Linked DNA regions of Homo sapiens: region 2 is linked to region 1. The links are contacts of gene promoters, found by promoter capture Hi-C in human tissues and cell types (Jung and others, 2019). All regions are on one chromosome and are shown on one strand. Each heading gives the region's core, a stretch centred on a gene start or on the middle of the fragment in contact. The rest is flanking DNA. Distances are from core to core; before and after follow the strand shown.

Region 1 (2,700 bases), core at 113-2,612:
CTCGCGGTTGCGCCCTAGGAGCATCGAAATGTTGGGATTGCGGATGGCGTAGATGACAGGGTTGATGGCCCCATTGGCCCAGGTCAGCCAGACGGCCACCACGCTGAGGAGCGAGGGGGCCTGCATGGTCTGGGCCTGCCGGGCGGCGGCCAGCAGCACCAGGAAGCAGTAGGGCCCCCAGCAGCAGATGACGAAGACGATCATGATGAGGACGGTGGTGGCCGTGCGCACCTCGCTGAAGAAGCGCAGCACGCGCGCGTAGGTGTTCACCGGCCGCACGCGCACGTCCGACAGGCGCACCGTCTTGCAGATGTGGTAGTGGCAGAAGCACATGAGCAGGAAGGGCAGCAGGTAGCAGGCCACCACCAGCCCCACGCTGAAGGCCGCGCCCAGCTGCGCGGGGTCCGGGGAGGTCCGGTAGAGGCAGCCGTGGAAGCTCTGCGCCGCCGCGAGTTCCCGGGGCGCCCCGAGCAGCTCCCAGGGCAAGGAGAAGCCCAGGGCCGTCAGCCAGGCGCCCGCCAGCAGCTGCAGCGCGCGGCGGCGGCCGATCTTCTCCCGCGGCGGCCGCACGATAGCGCAGTAACGGTCCAACGAGATGAGCGCCACGCTGAGCGTGGACACGATGCCGAAGCACGAGCTGAAGAAGCGGCTGGCGGCGCAGAAGCCGCGCCAGGGCCCCGCGGCGGCGGCAGGCGCCGAACCCCCGGGCGGAGTGAAGAGGTCCAGGAAGGCGGCGGGCAGGCAGAGCAGCGCCGTGAGCAGATCCGATAGGGACAGCGACAGGATGAAGGCGTTGGTGACGGTGCGGAGCTGCCGGTGCTTCACAATCACCCCCATCACCGCGCAGTTGCCAAGGCTAGACAGCAGGAAGATGAGCAGGAGGACGAGCGCCTGGGCCGCCACTGCAGCTCCGTGCGACAGCAGCGGCGCCGCCTCCGGGCCTAGCGGCCGCCTCACCGCCGCCCCCGCCTCCCGCGCTGCCCCGGACCCGCCAAGGCCGCCGCCACCGGGAGCGGCAGCTGTGCCGCCTCCGCTTGCGTCGCTCAGGTTCCCCAGCGCCGCGGTCGCCACGGTGCTGAAGGAGAGCACGGCCGCCGTGGCCGCGGAGGAAGTCCCGCCAGGTGGGCCGGCCGCGGAGGGGGCGCCGGAGTGCTGGCTGCCCAGTAAGGCCATGCTCGCTGGTGGGCGGGGCGGCTGCGGCTCCTCCATGGGGCCCAGTGGCGGCCGCGGATCTCCTCATCCCGCACCGGGGGCGGCGGCCGCTAGGTCGGAGTGGTGGCTCGGGGCCGGGGGCTAGCGGCCGCCGCGGGGAGCTGGGCTCGGCCGGAGGGGTGGCGGTCGCTGGGGACCTGGCGGAGCCTTTGACGTGGGTTCCAGCGTTGCCGAGGGAACCGCGTGTTTACGCAGGAGCGCGGGGCGGGACGGCAGCCCAGTACCCGCTGCAAAGCCGACCCGCGACACCGCCACTCCGGAGGTTACCGGCCCGGGTGTTCGGGTTTCCGAGAGTGCCAGGTCGACCTCCTGAGGGACCAATGTCCGGCCAGATAAAGTGCCGACTGGCATGCAAACAAATGACCAGATTCAACGAAAGTTCACTCTTGCTCTCTTTTGTAGGGTACAAATGTTCTACAGGCAGGCCTTTTGGGGAGTGGTGGGGGGGGCACTCTGCTTCCTGTGGGTGCTTTTGGTATATACAGGTAGGAAAGGAATCTAGAAAGTGAAGTGAAAGAAAAATCCAGAAGTCTACATCCAGACATCTTAAACTTGAGAAGCAGACTAATTTAAACCAGTAATTCTCAAACTTGAGCTAACAGAATTCACATAGAGGGCGTGTTAAAATACAAGTGACGAGGTCTGAACCCCAGCGTTTCGAATATGTCTGGGGAAGTACCCAAGAATTTGTATCTCTAACGGGTTCGCGGGTGGTGATGATGATGCTGGTCCCAGGACCACACTTACAGAAGCACTGATGTCAAGAGTTTCATAAAATGCAGATTCCCAGGCTGACAGAATTACTAAGGATGGGCCCATGACTCTAAACCCCGTAGGTGATTCTGATACAGGTGCTCTGAGGAGCTAGGATAGTTCCTTTAGATGTTACTTCATTTCCAAGGGCCTGGACCTCAGGCCCCTACTGGCTGATAAATGGGGGGAGAGGGATTGGTGCCTTGCCCTGCTAGCAGCCTTCATCTGTTCTCAGGAATGGGGTATGTTTTGAGTCTAAGGTGCTGCCAGCCTGGCAATCACCACAGATGCAGCTCCAGGTACCTGGCTGGGAGATACGGGGAAAAGAAAGGCAGGGCTACCCAGGGAAGTTGCATCTCAAGTTTCTGGGCATGGCCTCTAATGGGGAAAAGTGTGATAAACCCTCAGGTTAACTAACCCTGGGCTCTTCGCTAAAGCAGTGGTTCACAGAGTATGGACATTGGACCAGCAGCATCAACATCCCCTGGAAACCTTGAGAAATACAAATTATCAGGCCTACAGTGCATAGGATACCCCTGATCTACTGAAACTCCTGTGGTGGGGCCCAGGCACCTATGTTTTAACAAGCCCTCCCAGTGATTCTGATGCACAAATTTGAGAAACACTGCTCTAAAGAATGACTAGTATATTTGTAGATCTTAGAATCAATGGTATTAGTATTGGAGTGCTTATTTCATTCAGAAAAAATATCCTACAGGAAATTTACAGTATAAA
Region 2 (2,700 bases), core at 81-2,580, 800 kb before region 1:
ACCATTGGACGGAAGGAAAAGGTCACTAAATCTCTAGTTTCTGCCTATAAATAACACTGGGATGAACTTTTTTGGTTAAGATTTCCCCCCCATATTAAGGATTATTTTCTTAGAATAGAATCCCAGAAATGGAACTACTGAATGTGATTATTTTTAAGACTGTTAATATTTATTGTTGAATGAATGTAGCTAATATTTATTAACCTTTTCTGAGACATTATCTCATTTAATTCTCACAACAGTCCTATACACGTTCCTATTATGGATAAGGAAATAGAGGGCTGGACATGGTAGCTAACGTGTGTAATCCCAGCACTTTGGGAGGCAAAGGTGGGAGGATTGCTTGAGTCCAGGAGTTCAAGACACCATTCTGGGCAACATAGAGAGACATAAATAAATAAATAAATAAATAAATAAATAAATAATTAGCCAGGTGTGGTGGTGCAAACCTGTGGTCCTGGCAACCGAGGAGGCTGAGGTGGGAGGATTGCTTGGGCCCAGGAGGTCAAGGCTGCAGTGAGCCATGATCATGTCACTGTACTTCAACCTAAGTGACAGAGTGGGACCCTGCCTCAAAAAAAAAAAAAAAAGAAAGAAATAGAAAAATGGGGGTTTGTGTAACACTACAATTCATTATTTTGGGCTGTCATCATTTTTCATTATATTTTAAAAGGTATCAATAGAACTTTGTTAATGTGTTTATTTTTGGGGGGCAGAGTGTATGGTAATGGAAGTTTGGTTAAATAATTTTCTTTCTTTTAAAAAACAGTTGTGATTCTTTTTTTGAGCATTAGTCATACAAAGATTTTCAGATTTTTTTTTTTTTTTTTTTTTTTTTTTTTTTTTTTTTTTTTGAGATGGAGTCTCACTCTCTTGCCCAGGCTGGAGTGCAGTGGTGCGATCTTGGCTCACCACAACCTGCACCTCCTAGGATCAAGCCATTCTCCTGCCTCAGCTTCCCGAGTACTACAGGGACTACAGGTGCGTGCCACTATGCCTGGCTAATTTTTGTATTTTTATTTATTTATTTATTTATTTTTTGAGATGGAGTCTCACTCTGTTGCCCAGGCTGGAGTGCAGTGGCGTGACCTCGGCTTACTGCAACCTCCACCTCCTGGGTTCAAGCAATTCTCCTGCCTCACTCAGCCTTCCGGGTAGCTGGGATTACAGGAATGTGCCACTACACCTGGCTAATTTTTTTGTATTTTTAGTAGAGACGGGGTTTCACCATATTGGCCAGGCTGGTCTCGAACTCCTAACCTTGTGATCCTCCCACCTTGGCCTCCCAAAGTGCTGGGATGACAGGCATGAGCCACTGTGCCCGGCCGATTTTTCTATTTTTAATAGAGATGGGGTTTCGTTATGTGGCTAGGCTGGTCTCAAATTCCTGACCTTGTGCTCCTCCTGCCTCGGTCTCCCAAAGTGCTGGGATTATAGGTGTGAACCACCGCGCCCGGCCGAATTTCAGATTTATAAACAAAATCAGTTTAATACTAAAGGATAAACAGTAGGGCTCATTGTGAACTCATTCATCCAATATTTCAGCACCTACCTGTTCAGTGCTACTGTGTAGCACTGTGTTAGGAGCTGTGTGGATACTGCACTAGAACAAAGCTTTACAAGGGGAGAGGCTCTGCTTTGTTCAGTGCTGCATTTCCAGAGCCAGGACAGTGCTTGGCACGCAGTGAATATTCAGGAAATCATTTCAGAATGAATGAAAATATGGTCATGCACTGTTTTTACCAGTTACGGTGAGTTCAGCTGTGGGTGACAGAAACCCCTAAATTACAATGGCTTAAACTGGATGTAAGTTTGTTTTTCACATGAAATAAATCTCGAAAAAAGCAGTCCTGACTGCCAAGGAAGGTTCCTAATACCACCAGGGCCCAGTTTCCTCCTGTCTTATTGCCCTGGATTTCTTGGCATATAATTTTTTACTTCAGAGTCTCAGCTGACTGTGTGGGCTCCAGCCATCATGTCAACATTTCCAAGGAAAAGAAGAAAAGAAGAGCATGCTTCCTGTTTTTCACAGCACTTCCTGGAGGTTGCACACAACTCTTTTACTTAAGTCTCATTGGCCACAACTTAGTTACATTGTCACATCTAGCTGCAGCAAGGTTAAGAAATGTGAACTTCATTATGGGTGGCCATGTGCCCCAAGTAAAATCAGGAGTTCTATTTATGTGGAGGAAAGAAAGAATGTATTTTGGGAACAACTCGCAGCATCTCTTGATAATGAGCTTAAATCTTAGGAGGTGAAATTATAAACACATTAAATTTTAAGTAACCACATAAAACTGTATATTATTGAAATCAAACAAGTAGTACAGATGATAGGAAGCACAGAGAGAGAAGATCCTTACAAAATCTTGGTTGATTAACTGCAGGAATATAGTGAAGGGCAGCATCATAGCTGAGGGGGTGAACCCGATACACAGAGAGTAGTGGGGAGAATTGGAGTCCAGTCCAAAGGCTACAGATGTTTTATATTAGATAGAGGTGGTAAAAATACAAAAAAAATGCACAGTGATTAAGAATAAAATTCAATCTGCTTTTGATCATCAAGAAAAGGTCATAGTAATAGTTTTAAAATCAATATATTTTATTTAAAAAGACTTTTACCACCTTTAAAGAAATCTTTAAAGCCATGTTACTTAGATTTCCCCCTGCAAGCCTCCTGTGGTTCTGCTGTGTTTAATC

What was found. The method cuts DNA at HindIII sites, captures the fragments that hold promoters and counts their contacts. A contact is called where the count stands out against the background at its distance.
Region 2: a contact is called between a fragment that was not itself captured here and the fragment with the promoter of GPR135 in region 1, in 2 of the 25 tissues and cell types used here (H1 embryonic stem cells and IMR-90 fibroblasts).

What each region holds. Positions count from the first base shown.
Region 1 is chr14:59,464,018-59,466,717 of GRCh38, forward strand. GPR135 (G protein-coupled receptor 135) reads right to left here and starts at 1,363. Exons shown (of 1, transcript NM_022571.6): 1 at 1-1,363. The coding sequence starts at 1,209. It also overlaps a transcript of L3HYPDH not described here. RefSeq lists a silencer at 894-1,433. The HindIII fragment of the contact is 12,129 bases long and covers 1-2,700 here.
Region 2 is chr14:58,660,200-58,662,899 of GRCh38, forward strand. No RefSeq gene overlaps it. Among named protein-coding and RNA genes, the nearest start is that of DACT1, 24 kb to the left of the region's middle. The HindIII fragment of the contact is 4,345 bases long and covers 1-2,700 here.